Linked DNA regions of Homo sapiens: regions 1, 2, 3 and 4 are each linked to region 5. Evidence: promoter capture Hi-C in 16 types of primary human blood cells and fetal thymus (Javierre and others, 2016). All regions are on one chromosome and are shown on one strand. The core of a region is centred on a gene start or on the middle of the fragment in contact, and the rest is flanking DNA. Distances in the headings are between cores, read along the strand shown. Region 1 overlaps LOC102723944 (a long non-coding RNA gene). Region 2 has its middle 10 kb from the start of FOXC1. Region 3 overlaps LOC102723944 (a long non-coding RNA gene). Region 4 has its middle 29 kb from the start of FOXCUT. Region 5 holds the start of LINC02521 (long intergenic non-protein coding RNA 2521).

The links. The method cuts DNA at HindIII sites, captures the fragments that hold promoters and counts their contacts. A CHiCAGO score of 5 or more calls a contact.
Region 1: a fragment that was not itself captured here is called in contact with the fragment with the promoter of LINC02521 in region 5 in 4 of 17 cell types (naive CD4 T cells, activated CD4 T cells, total CD4 T cells and 1 more); the score reaches 8.7 in naive CD4 T cells.
Region 2: a fragment that was not itself captured here is called in contact with the fragment with the promoter of LINC02521 in region 5 in 15 of 17 cell types (activated CD4 T cells, naive B cells, naive CD4 T cells and 12 more); the score reaches 18.0 in activated CD4 T cells.
Region 3: a contact is called between a fragment that was not itself captured here and the fragment with the promoter of LINC02521 in region 5, in 7 of 17 cell types (non-activated CD4 T cells, total CD4 T cells, activated CD4 T cells and 4 more). The highest score is 10.5, in non-activated CD4 T cells.
Region 4: a contact is called between a fragment that was not itself captured here and the fragment with the promoter of LINC02521 in region 5, in 10 of 17 cell types (naive CD4 T cells, total B cells, total CD8 T cells and 7 more). The highest score is 11.9, in naive CD4 T cells.

Annotation. Positions count from the first base shown.
Region 1 is chr6:1,515,655-1,518,354 of GRCh38, forward strand. All of the region lies in intron 2 of LOC102723944 (a long non-coding RNA gene), which reads right to left. Among named protein-coding and RNA genes, the nearest start is that of FOXCUT, 89 kb to the right of the region's middle. The HindIII fragment of the contact is 4,402 bases long and covers 1-2,700 here.
Region 2 is chr6:1,618,622-1,621,321 of GRCh38, forward strand. No RefSeq gene overlaps it. Among named protein-coding and RNA genes, the nearest start is that of FOXC1, 10 kb to the left of the region's middle. RefSeq lists an enhancer at 1-850. The HindIII fragment of the contact is 5,353 bases long and covers 1-2,700 here.
Region 3 is chr6:1,550,965-1,553,664 of GRCh38, forward strand. LOC102723944 (a long non-coding RNA gene) reads right to left here. Exons shown (of 7, transcript XR_427861.4): 2 at 1,382-1,520. Among named protein-coding and RNA genes, the nearest start is that of FOXCUT, 53 kb to the right of the region's middle. The HindIII fragment of the contact is 8,686 bases long and covers 1-2,700 here.
Region 4 is chr6:1,575,361-1,578,060 of GRCh38, forward strand. No RefSeq gene overlaps it. Among named protein-coding and RNA genes, the nearest start is that of FOXCUT, 29 kb to the right of the region's middle. RefSeq lists an enhancer at 1,059-1,832. The HindIII fragment of the contact is 9,409 bases long and covers 1-2,700 here.
Region 5 is chr6:2,633,240-2,635,939 of GRCh38, forward strand. LINC02521 (long intergenic non-protein coding RNA 2521) reads left to right here and starts at 1,261. Exons shown (of 3, transcript NR_149119.1): 1 at 1,261-1,516. It overlaps LINC01600 (long intergenic non-protein coding RNA 1600), which reads right to left and starts at 1,364. Exons shown (of 3, transcript NR_131168.1): 1 at 1,326-1,364; 2 at 366-553. The HindIII fragment of the contact is 1,903 bases long and covers 89-1,991 here.

The sequences.
Region 1 (2,700 bases), core at 25-2,524, 1.1 Mb before region 5:
CACTTTGGGAGGCCGAGGTGGGCAGATCACCTGAGGTCAGGAGTTCGAGTCCAGCCTGGCCAACATGGTGAAACCCCGTCTCTACTAAAAATACAAAAATTAACTGGGCCTGGTTGTGTATGCCTGTAATCTCAGGTACTCAGGAGGCTGAGGCAGGAGAATCGCTTCAACCGGAAGGCAGAGGTTGCAGTGAGCCGGGATCATGCCACTGCATTCTAGCCTGGGCAACAGAGCAAGACCGTCTAAAAAAAGAAAAAATCATCAGGGAATACATTTTGTGCCATATGTATTGGGTGAATTAAGGAAAGGCTCCTTATGTGATAGTTCATTTATGCCTCACCATCACCTCCTAAGATAAGGAATAGCAGACAATTTTCCAGAGGAAGAAATGAGGTTTAGAAGGAATGTAATTTTAAAGTCACATGACCAGCAGGTCCCAGACCCTGTATTGAAACCTGAGTATATCTGGCTTATGTTCTTCCTACTGCATATGCTATATCTTCCAGGAAGAAAAAAGTATTTACAGTGTCCTAAAAGGTCGTCATAGTTGGAAAGGACCTTATGGATAATCCAGGCAGAAGTCTCTCCCTTTTTACATTAAGCTATATAAAGTCTTAAACGGAACTAAGGCTCAATTATGTTAACTGAAAGACGTTATCCCGTCGTGTGATCCAAGATGACCCTAGCGGTGCTCGGAAGTTGCTTTGCCGGGCAGCAGCCGTTCGCCAGTCCCCTCCTTGGCCCCAAGCCCCCCGGTGACTGTCATATGGCCTCACACTTATCTCATGAGCTACATTGTTACAGATTTTAATAATGTAACATCCTTCTATGACGGATGTGCAAAAGCAGGCATCAGAAACCATTGACATTTATTATCATTGTCTGTTACTATCACTAGGAAAGTTGGAAGCTGTCGTTTTTAATGCAGAAAAATCGGGTCTAAATGTCTGAACCCCCTTTACTCAAAGCTCTGCTGAAGTGAAGCACATATTAAATAGTGTTTCTAAATGACCATTGACCTGGCATTTCCCCAATCAAAGATGGTTTTTTGTTATTTATTTTTAATTATGTCACATCTATGAAACACAATTTGCCAAAAGCAAGCCCTTCAGCGACCTCTGAGCGCTGAGTTCTGATGGCACAGGAGGGAGCCCTGTAACAATCGTGTGTGTTTTCCATGATCCCAGAGGACTGCCCTCCAGCTCTGCAGAGAAGTCTCCTCTGCAGCACGAGGGGCCCACCAGCCTCGAGGCACAGAGGAGACCAGAGCACATCTACACTCAGGTCTGGTGCTCTGGCCAGAAGCAGAGGCTGCCAATTGTACTCAGCCATACTTAATTAAGTAATAGTTTTATGAGGTGGACGGCAATACCCCAGGGGCCAACTCAAGGCCACAGGATTTATTGAGCTCTAACTGCAAACCGACAGTCCCCAGCATGCACACAACAGAGTCTGTATTACGAGAAAGTTAGTGTTGCGAGAGAATTCTTTCCAGGGAAAGTGAGGTGCCCATTCTTCATTTGCTAGCAGGTTCTCTGCTCCGTGAAGCACCAGCACTTCCAACAGGAGCCTGGGTGGACACACCGTGCAGAATGAAAGATGGGGAGCAATGACCTGAAAGCATGCGTGGGGTTTGCCTGGTCAAGAGAGGCAGGAAGTGGTGGCTTCTAAAGAGGAAGCACCTTCACAAGCAATAACCAACAGCAGTGGGATTTCGGTGGGGGAACAACTGAGGACAAGACAGGTCAGGCAAGGGTGTGATAATTAACTATGGTTTCAAGAAGGAGAGGGCCAGAGCCAGTCACCTGTCCCCAGGTGTCACTGTAACTCCACCCCTCCATCAGCCAAATCAGCGCCAGGAAGCAGGAATGAGTGATGCAGGCAGCCGAAGGGGCCACTCACCCCTGGATCTCCGTATCTAGCTGTTTAGCTGTGGGGAACGTTATTGAACGCGGATTTTAAGACACACAAAATACTCCGCTGTAAATCCAAAGAAACACATTCGTAGACTTACAAGTTTACAGATTCTAGCCCATACAGGAGTCAGAAAGTCCATGAGAACCTGGAAGCACCTGCCTGTTTAGATTTTGTCCTTCATCTTTTCTGCCGTCACCCTTGGGTAGCTCTCCCAGCAAGACCACTGGAAGAAAGACTGAACTTAAAGCAGTTGTTTCCTTGGAATACTTATAAAAATATGAAGGCTTTGTGTGTTCTTTTTAAAAATCTATAACATTGCAACCTGATTCAAAGCAAACACATAAAAAAACACAAGGCTGATAGGTAAGAAAAAGACCTTAATGAGGGATCCTTAGAGATGTTCATGTATTGAAGCCAGTGGGTCAAGGCAGAGACCCTTTGAGGCCCTTGCAGGAACTGGTTAGTGCTGAGCATAGTGGCCATCCCTTCTAGCTTGCCCAGGGCAGTATCATTTTATCCTGCTGTCCCGGGGTCATCATTAACACCATCCCCTTTCAGATTGAAAGGCATTCTGTAACCACAGAACTAGTTCAAACCGATTCAACCCTGTCAGTAACAAAATGTAATGAAATGTGAGCTGTTTTTCAGTGCAACAGACCCCCAGATTACAAGTCATATAATCTGAGTGTGCCAGATGAACTAAGCAAGCCCTATCCATGCTGGCCAGAACATAAAAGCCAACCACAGGTGGAACCAAAATATTCAGGCTGCAGAACAGAGAGC
Region 2 (2,700 bases), core at 183-2,682, 1.0 Mb before region 5:
GTTCCCTGTACTCAAGGTTGGGAAAGGAAGGAGTTTTTTGGAGAGCTTTGAGGACGACTTAGATCCCGAGATGGGGGAGAGGGAGATGGAAAGAGAGGGGGAGGGAAGACGTGGAGAGAGGGACATCCCCCCTCCCATTACCTACCCCGGGGAAAAAGCAGGAAAACCAACACATTTAGCGCCATTAACTCTTAAGGCCTCCACATTTCCTTCGGTATAAAAGCAGGTCATTGGTCCCGGAGGCTGTGCCGGGGCTCGTCAAAGGCTACAAACAAACCGGACGGGTGGGAAGCACGTTTCAGCGGCGACTGGATTTTTAAAAATCTGCTGGTAGAGTGAAAACAAAAATTGTCCTCCAAGTTGGCAAAATCGGCGTCCCAGACGGTGCGCAGGAGGGCCCTGCGAGGCCTGTCCCCGGAGCCCCGCGCCAGTCCTGTAGGCCCGGCTGGGTCCGCAGCCCGGTGTTCCACTCGTGGGTCGGGCCCGGCTGCGGGGTCTTTCCGCAGCCGGGACACCCAGGACAGCAGCGGCTGGGGAGCCGGGGCCAGGGGCTTCCTTGCAATTCCAATGATTTTTATTATTATCACTCGCAAAGGACAAACGCGGCCAAGGCCGGGCCTCACAGTGGCTGTGCTGGTCATCGCGTGGAGGAGTGTGCGCTAACCCAGGGGCGAGGGGGGCGCGCCCGGTGTCCCGGGGAGAGCTTAGAAGGAAGACGCCCCACCGTGGTCCCTACAGTCAGGGACAGTCTGGGTGCTAGAAATTCCCAGAGAGAACTCGAGGGGCTGATGTCCTGGGTCACCAGTCCCTGGTGCCTGTGGGGCTTCCTGCGCGCCCACCCCCATCCCCCTCCCCCCTCTCAGGTTCGACGGATTCTCCCGGAGGCTTAGGACAGTGATTTACAGTAAGTGGTGACAGTGGAATAACGTGACAGTCCGCTGCATTTGCCAGCTGGCTCCTGGGCAGGCCTACCCGCCGGGCCCGACCCCAGAGTCGAGTCCTCGGAGCCGCCGGGTAAAGCCCCCTCCCCCGCCCCGGTGCAGCCCCGCGTTCCCCGCGCCCGGCGCTGCCGGGGAAAAGTGGCACAACAGGAAAGCCTCGCCAGAGGGCCCTTCCCAGTCGGCTTCCTCGCCATAAAAAGCCAGACTCCAGCCGAGGTCCTGACCCCTTCCAAATATACGTTCCCTTGCCCGCGGCCCGCCACTCCCGCCCGGGCCTCGGGCTGTGCAGCTTCCTCCTAGGCCTGCCCGGGCCCATGCCTCCCCCGAAGCGGCGGGAGTCGGTGCAGCCTCAACTTCTACTGCGTGTCCCAGGTCGCCAACCAGCTTTGCTCGCGTGCCGTTGGCCCGGAGGCTGCCGCGCCAGTCTCTGCGTGCGCCTGAGCGCGCTGGAGCATTTGCGAGGCCAGGGCTGCCGACGGCGAGAGGATACTTTGAGGAACACGGTGCTTCAGTCCCGCCCCCGCTCTCCGCCCGAGCTGGAGGTTGGGGCGCGCTGAGCCGCAGCGCCTGGACAAGTGCGCGGGCCGGAGCCGCCCAGGCCTGCACCCGGGGGCTCGCGGCCGACGCATGCGCACGCGCGGTGGCGGGTCTGCAGGCCCGAAGGCCCGGCCCCTCCCTCAAACCCGGAGCGGGGAAGCCCAGGGGCTGAGAGCCTCGGCCCGGGTCGCAGGAGCTGGGGAGCGGGGACGCGGGCAGGCTAGGTCTTCCCACCTGCCGTCGGGGCTCCTCCCCGCAGCAGCAAAGGGGTCCCAGTGCCCGTGGCAGTGCATGCCCCAGCGGACACGCTGGCTCCCAAATTCAGAGATCAGAGGGGCGGCTGAGAACGGGGCGTCCGCTGTGTGTGACCCCTGACCGTGGAGGAAGGGCGGGAGCCGGGAGTAGGCGGTGGGGCCCGGGGTCAGGCCGCGGTCGTCGGCTCCCGGCAAAGGCGCTCTGGCCGGGGAAGGGGGCGAGGGTGGGCGGCCGGCCTCTGCCGTCGTAGTCATACCTGGGACGTTGAAATGGGCTTTGGGGATAGAGCTCACTCCCAGCGCGCCCCACAGGAGAAGCCCGCAGCTCAGGCCTGGGCCGTGCAGACCGCTGGGCGGGCTCGGGGCCCGAGGAGAGCAACACGGCGCGAGGTCCAGTCGCGAGTAATAACCCCGACAGCACGGCCCCTCGAAGACGTGTTCCGGGCACCGGGGTTGTGAGCGGGGGAGCCTCGGGCCTTGGGCCCGCTTGGCACGGGGCGGGGGCGCCTCCTCCAACTCCTGGAGATCAGGCCCAGACCCCGGGTGTTCTCAGGGGACACACTGTGGACGGTGGACCAGTTCCTAGCGCCGTTTTGTCCCCCATTGCCCCTGCTGCTTGTTAAAAGTATTAGCGACCCCCGTGATGGCAATCCACAATTTTTGGAGGGTGCGGGTGGCATGTACGGACGTGAAGGTCTCTTTGTGAGGCACGTCCACGCACACACAGGGACACTCATTTTGTAAAACCTAGATGGGCGCTGCCACCACCCCTCCATGCCACCCGCGTACCAATCAAGGATGCAGGTTGTAGAAAACACCTGGACGTGTGTGGGCTGCACCTTAAAACAGAATTCACCCAGTAGGCACTCCCAAATCCAAATAAAGTGCGTAGGGTGCTTTGAGACTTGGGGGGAGGGGTGTTAAAAAGTTACTTGTAAACAATACATTTAAGGTTATTTTCAAGTGAA
Region 3 (2,700 bases), core at 170-2,669, 1.1 Mb before region 5:
TCCATTTCAACTATTTACACTTATCAGGAAAAGGTGAGATGTCAAGTTAAAAAGTGGGTGAAGGTGAGGTCAGGAGATTGAGATCATCCTGGCCAACATGGTGAAACGCTGTCTCTACTAAAAATACAAAAATTAGCCAGGAGTGGTGGCGCATGCCTGTAGTCCCAGCTACTTGGGAGGCTGAGGCAGGGGAATTGCTCGAACCCAGGAGGCAGAGGTTGCAGTAAGCCAAGATCCTGCCACTGCACTCTATCCTGGCAACAAAGTGAGACTCCATCTCAGAAAAAAAAAAAGTGGGTGAAGGGTACATTATTTTTCTAAATTTTTTCTAAATTGTCTTCAGGAGTGTATGCAGAAAAAAATTTGAAGACCACTAAGTTATCTGACTTGGCTGGGCTTGAAGCACAGGAGGTCTCATTCACATCAGAAGGTGGGACCCTGGTGCTCTGTAGCAAGAGGTGACGCAACAGTTGCTTGAACTCTGCTTTCAGAGTTGGGGTTATAGGAGTCAAGTGATAAGTGGAGTTTTGGCTCACGTGCTTCTCATGATGTACCTTGTAGGTCTATAAACTTATCCTGTAGCATTTCCTGGGTTTCTGAATGCAGAGCACTCTCTATGCAGAAACTCTATGAATGTATGCAGAAACACCCAGCTACAGAATCCCCACACTCATCCCTGGCCCAGGAAGTGAGGACTATTTAGGTAAGAAGGAGCAAGTGGAAAACCCTGGAACCACTTCTTCCTATCAAGAGTTATCAAAAGCAACATCACATCCCTGAATGAACTGCCAAAGACTTGAAAGATGTAGAGATGGCCGGGCGTGGTGGCTCATGCCTGTAATCCCAGCACTTTGGGAGGCCGAGGCAGGTGGATCATGAGGTCAGGAGATCAAGACCATCCTGGCTAACACAGTGAAACCCTGTCTCTACTAAAAATACAAAAAATTAGCCGGGCTTGGTGGCGGGCACTTGTAGTTCCAGCTACTCGGGAGGCTGAGGAGGAGAATGGGATGAACCCAGGAGGCAGAGCTTGTAGTGAGCCAAGATCACGCCACTGCCCCCCAGCCTGGGCGACAGAGTAAGACTCTGTCTAAAAAAAAAAACAAAACAAACAAACAAAAAAGATGTAGAGATGACATTTCCTATTACGGCCACTTAACTCCCCTGCTTCACCTATGTAGAACACATATGGCTGTTGGAGGATAATAAGGGTTCACTGTTAATTTAGTCAATAGATGGCTTCCATTGCAGCTTTTGTTCTAGACATAGTTTTATGACTGTAGCAAATCAACACAGCCCCCAGCACCCAATATGCAGCTATCAGTTTGGTAAATGTGTTGTCTCTTTCCCAATAAAACCACCAGAAGCAATATTATTTTACCTGGTAGGGACAGCAATACACCTCCACAGTCTTACCCTGTGTCAGGACTGTGCCTTCTCTCCCAATTACATCTGCAGGGAACTGTGTTCATGTGACCATTCCAGAGGACACCACATTAGTAATACGATTCTTATTGCACCTAGTGAGCGGAAACAAGTACATTATGTGCCTACATGTGTGCCAAAGAGTGGAATGTTGTGTCACAAGAATTCAAGAACCTGCTCTCTCAGCAGAATTGCTGTGCCCAGTGATCTGGTGAGCGATGGGATATCTCTCTGAATCTTGCACCCCCTACTGCTAATAAAGAGCTATAGCACTTGATACGACTCTGGATTGGGGAACCAATATGTACTGTGTGTGTGTGTGTGTGTGTGTGTGTGTGTATGTGGGTGTGTGTGCAGCTCTGACCCATATTCTGAATAACCCATTAGTCTGCCAGCTTTGAGAAAATCCCAGGGCAGGCCAGGCATGGTAGCTCATGCCTATAATCCCAGCACTTTGTGAGGGCCAAGGCAGTAGGATCGCTTGAACCCAGAAGTTCAAGACAAGCCTGGGCAAAAAAAAACCATGACTCTGTCTCAAAAAAAATTTTTTTTAATTAGCTGGGTGCATGGTGGCATACACCTATAGTCCTAGCTTCTCAGGATGCTGAGGCAAGAGGATTTCTTGAGCCCCAGGAGTTGAAGGCTGCAGTGAGGTATGGTTGCACCACTGTGCCACTCCAGCCTGGGTGACAGAGAGAGACTGTCTTAAAAAACAAAAACAAAAATTTCAGGCCATGTGCAAGCAGCTTTACCACCACTTGGATCCGTAACAGATCTAATAGTGCTGGAAGCATCCATAGCCAATCAGGATACGATGGTGTCTTATTTTAAAATGTTAGGTCTTATTTTAAAAATGTAAGACTGAACATACCACTGCCAGAATATGCCACTGCAGAACCCCTCAAGGAAAATCATAGGCAAGGCTGTATGTCCAATCACAGAGTTGGTGGAAGACTACAGCATCTCAATACAAGAAAGACCACACAGAAATAGGACCTCTCAGGAAAAAAGACTTAGATTGCTCCACTAGATAAAGAGCACTAACCAGCAGAGGCGCCGGATATGGTGAAAGGAAATACATGCCAGGATAAAGCAAGGATGCTCAACAGTCCAACCTCAGACTCACAAGCCTTGGAAAAATGAGGACTGTAATAGCATTGTTTTCCTTCTTTTCTCTATCCTAGTCAATTTATATTTGTCCTCCCCGTTTCCCTTAACATTTTATATTGGATGTGTTTTATATAAGATGTGACTTTATAATTAGGTCTACGGGTT
Region 4 (2,700 bases), core at 134-2,633, 1.1 Mb before region 5:
GGTGTTGGAGTGAGCTGGGACCATAAAACTCACAAGCTCCAAGTTCCCAGGCTCTTTGTCAGCCCACAGAGCCCTGTCACCTCACAGCTAATGCAGGCAGTGGCCAGCGATCCCCTGGGAGCGGTTTAAAAGCGCAAGTCTGGTTTTTAGAAAAAGCAGCTGAGGTTATAGTAAGCAGCTGACAGTTCCCCCACAGCTTCAAGCTGTAAGCAGCAAAGTGAAAGAGGGGAAGGAGCGTCCTGAGTGGCGTTCTCATAGGAGAGTCATGTCCACCTGGGAAGCAGGGAGATTTGGGCAATCATCCCACTCTTCCAGGAAGACAGCCAAAACCCCCACTGCCCCACAGCCTCCCCACGCCAGAAGCCAGCCCCACTCCAGCCTCAGCCCAGGCGTAACACTGACTCCCCCACGGGCCACAGAGGCTGTGGTCTCAGGGCTTCAGACTGCATTTGCTCCTGTTCACAAAGAAAAGGATTCCAGTAACACCAGAAGTTCTCTCTCCAAAACCGGCGGACCCGGAAGCCCTATTTTGAAACGTTTCTTCACACCCAGACCTCAGCCAAAGCAGGAAAGACGGCACTCAGTGGGGAATGAAAGGCTGGCCTTGTTCTGATGGGAAAGCAGCACTGTGGCTCCCCACAATCCGAAAATGCAGTTTTGATGATTAAAGTGCACATTTCAACAGGCTTTGTGACAGACACTCCTGGCGGCAAGGTCTGGGAAAAGGAGGCTGCCAGTAAACCCCCTGCTAGCCTTGTTTTCTCTGAACTTCTGGCCCCAGTGGGAAAGGAAATTAAAACTTCATTTTTAATTTTTAGTTATGACCCATTGTGCTGCAGGGTCATGGCCGGGGGTTTAGAACACCTAGCCTCGAAAAGGGTCTGAGACACTGTCTTTGAGGTCAGTTCACAAGCCCAGAAGCACCCGAGGCACAGCTGGCGGGGTCGGGGGGCGCAGAATGTTTGCATAGGACAGAGACCTCTGCAGAGATCCCATAAACATCCCTGAGACCGGGAATGCACTTACATTTGCAATTGACCTAATGGTGCCTACAGGACTTTCTCACTTGTTCTCACAACCCAGCTTGATGGACTTCGGCTCTCAAATTCTATCATGCTATTTTACTACGTATTTCTTAGAGGTCAGTTTATGAAATAACATGCAGAACAACTAGTCCTGGCAATAATGAAAGAGGAGGAGTTGGAAAAAGACACAGCCAGGGCCCACACTCCAGCATTGCTCAGTGGATAACCTAACTTAATGGGTACGTTAACTCCCAGGAAGTTAAGACAAAGCTCTTTAGGAAAGACCACCTAGTGTCTCTTCTTGACTTCACGGAGGAAGTCTAGAAAATACTAGTGACCATGGGAAAGCAAACAGACCCAAAATGGTCGTGTTTGGCCTTCAGGGAATTTTGTTGGTTCTTTGAAAAAGGTGAATTAGTCGCCACCATTGAAAGTCCCGGTTTCCTGCTCCTCTCCGTGGATTGGAAAATGAGGCTTCGTGAGGCCCACCGTCCCGTGTGGCATCATCTGTGGGGCTGACAGCACCTGCCCCCTAGGTCGGTTGTCCCACTCCCACTCAGCACAGCCGCCACGCCAGGCTGCTGGGAGTGTCTGAGCTTCAGAACCCTGTTCTGGAGTGAATGGAACATACTCGACACCCTTGGAGCCAAGCAACTGAGATGGACCATTTTCAATAGACTTCAGGGCCCTATCAGAAAATGCCATCAAATGATTCTGTTATGTGTAACAAATACATAGACAGAGAGCAAATGGAAAGGGCCCGGCCAGGGGGCCCCCAGCCTAGACAGCCTCCACACGCCCCCTCAGAGGTACCACTTCCCACCACTGCTTTGGCCTGAATACCCCCTCACTCAGCCACTCCTTCTGGCTGCGGCCCCTCCAGCTTCTGCTAGCAAATGTCCCATAGAGGGTCAAGGGACACTCCTCCTTCTCCCAGGACACTGGCTGCCCAGATCTCCCCCTGCCTGCAGCCGGGGACCTGAATTGGGAGAGGTGAGATATTAGCATCCCCTGGTCCATTTCAGGCTTCAGGAGCCCCGCAAGCTGCAGGCCAACTTTGGAAGACATTTGTGGTGTGGAGACAAAGCCGAGCCCCGGCTGGTCATCCCCACCCGTCGGGGCAGCTGTGCCTGCCAGCCCTGCCTGCCCCTGCCATGCCTGCCACACTCCTACCTGGCCCAGGCTGGAAGGCATCCAGGACAGATCAAAAGTCCCAAATGAGGATGAATATCTGAAAATGGGCACTGAAAGGGGGCGGAATACACGCACACTAAACTGCATGTAGCTGTCAAAGCATTTGGAAACAACAGCGGCCTCAAAGCTCAATGTTATATTTCCACACTGTGATCATTAAACGGTAAGAAACAACCGTCCCAAGAAGGACGAAGAGAACCTTGGATGCCATCTGTGTCAAGCTGTCCCTGGAAAGAAGGAACACTGAGTCCTGAGGGCAAAGGCGAGAATAAACACCGCGCACCCTCAGCCGGGGCCCCGTGTTCCTCCGTGATGTTCCACTTTTGGAAAGGAAGCTGGCACTTGGGTATGCAACAACCTGCCTTCAAACGCCAGTGGCGGGATTTGTTTTTACATTTACATTTTATTATTTTGTGTAGAAAATCCTGCTTTTGAACACCTCAAAAATGAAACTGCAAGGAAAAGCCAGTGAGACGCAGGA
Region 5 (2,700 bases), core at 11-2,510:
TTCATATCCATAATTTGCCCCTTTCTCTAACCCAGGGTGCACGCTGCCGTGGCCCTTGGTGACAATGTCCCCTGTGGCCTTCCTCCAAAGCTTGCTCCAGCAAGCTCTGACATGGTGTCCTCCCTCCCCTTCTGGGCTGCGGCTTCTCCAACCTCCCCCAGCTCCTGCAGACAGAGGAGAAACAGCAAGTCACAAGATAAGACAAAGACCCTCTAGGCCAGGCCACTCCTCGCTGCCACTCTGGGACAGCAAGGCAAAACGCAGACGGCCCCAGCTCTGGACGCCTCTCCTCCTCTGGACCCTAACCCTAACCCTAAGCCACTGGAACACTCACGGGAGAAAGCTGGACCTGCTTTGAGGCTCACCTCCCTGCATGCACATCCATCCGGCTTCTCTCAAGAAGCAACCTGGTGTCTGAGAGCCGTTGAGTCTTCATCCCAGCTCTGGTATTTCTCTCATGTGGCCACATAACCTTGAATGTCTGACCTTCAATTTCTTCATCTGTACAGTGGTGAAGATGATCCCCACTTTGCTAGGTTGTTGTGAGCATTACCTAAAAGAAAATAGGTGCTATGGCGGCATGTTTGTTGAGCTAGGAGGACTCGGAACAAAATTAGCTTCTGCACCGGCTGTGCTGGAGCCAGGCAGGCCGCTCCGGTGTGGCCCTGTTTTTCCTGGTTTGTGTCCCAGGAACCTGCCAACCCTCATTGTCCCGGATTTTCCCTTTGACTCCAAAAGCCGTGTCTTTCTTATCAAGCCTCTTTATTTTTGTTATTATCCCGTCAACATACTCCCCTCTGATTCGCCCCCACTAATGACTCGCGCCCTTTCCAAAGTCCCAGCACACCGCGCTTATAATCTCTTTCAGCTGTCCTTAAAAAGGTTCTATTTGTCCCCTCCGCCCCGCTCAGGGGCGCCCGGACTCTGGGGCCCGGCCTTCGCGGGCTCCCGGGTTCCTCCCATCGCTTCCCTCACAGTCCTGGCCGCAGGGCAGCGGGTTTCGCACGGGAGGGAAGGTTTGGATGGCTAACGCCCAGGGTTGGTCTTCCCTGTGTCTTTTATGGGAACACGTTCCTGCCTGCGCCCCACGGGACAGAGCCGTTTTCCCGCCCCGCCACGCCGCGCCCGCAGGCCCCGCTGCCCGCAGCCTCTTCCCGACGCCCCAGGCCGTGCGCCCCCCCGAACCGGGCCCACCGCGTGCTGTGCGGGGCTTCCGCGCCTGCGCACGAACGCTTCTGCGAGCTTTCTCGGAAGCAGCTGGGGGGCGGGGAATCTGCTGAGGAACGGCGCTTTATAAATCAAAAGATAATAATAACAGAGCTTACGGTGAGCACCGGAGGCTGGAAACGGGGTGGCATCCGCTCGGGGCGGGGCGGCGTCGCCAGCGAATGACAACACTGCCCCCTGGTGGCCGATGCGGCCAGGCCCGAGAGAGCGCAGGCCGGGTGCGAGCCAGGCTTCCTCACCACGCGGCTTCCCCACTCATCCCATAGAAACCGTAACTGAGCAAATGACGGTAAGTCCCCAGGAAGCGTTAAGGCCAGGAAGCAGCACAGGAGAAAAACCCGAATCCCATTTTTTTAGAGTAGGGATTTATTTGTTGTCCCCAGATAGCAAGCTGAATTTCTGAATAGTTCAGAGCTCACAAAAGAAGCCAAGACCTTTCAGGGCATTTTATAATGTTGCTTTTTATAAACAAAATATTGAAACCACTACTATCACTGTCACTGGGGGATTACTGTTGAGCAGAAATGCTTGTGAAACTCCCAAAAGAAAGGGTCGTTTGTGCTTCTTTGGCATTAAGTAAAAATGTCCTGTTTGGTGTGTACACGTTTTCATATTTAATTATTCACACTGTGCACTTTATATATAAACTCAGCACTTAGGTTCTCTGTGAGCCAGAAACCTGGCTTCTGTGCTCATCCATAGACCCAGTGAGAGTGTAGAAGCCAAGCCTGGTGGAGCCTGTGTCTACCAGGGCATTGCAGTAAAGCTTCTACCACTCACTGTAAATACCTCCCATCGAGGCTGAGGAAAAGTTGTAGCATACTTGGAAATTGGGGTGGAGTATTGTCATCCAAAAAGGCATATTTCTTTTGGTGTTTTCCATACCCGGCTGTGTCATTGTGAAGCCTCAGCTCTCCCAATCTCCCCATAAACTGGAGGAATCCTAGTGTTTCCTGTCCTGCCACATTATGTGTGGGGAAGATTTTTTTTTTTTTTTTTGAGACAGAGTTTCACTCTTGTTACCCAGGCTGGAGTGCAATGGCGCGACCTTGGCTCACTGCAACCTCTGCTTCCTGGGTTCAAGCGATTCTTCTGCCTCAGCCTCTGGAGTACGGAGCTGGGATTACAGGCACCCGCCACCATGCCCGACTATTTTTTGTATTTTTTAGTAGAGACCGGGTTTCACCATGTTGGCCAGGCTGGTCTCAAACTCCTGACCTCAGGTGATCCACCCGCCTCGGCCTCCCAAAATGCAGAAAGAGTCTTAAGATGGATTTTTAGTAAGTACTTCAAGCGGCTTTATGAAAGCTACCGTCAGTAAAGTAGAAAACTATATATGCACATATTTAGATATGGAGCTCCCACGGAGGAAGTGCTCTGACAGGTCAAATCTGCCCCCAAAATAAGTTGATAGAACTTCAAGGAAGCATGAAAGCGGCCTTGCTGTGCATTTCATTTTATGGAGCGTAAGTG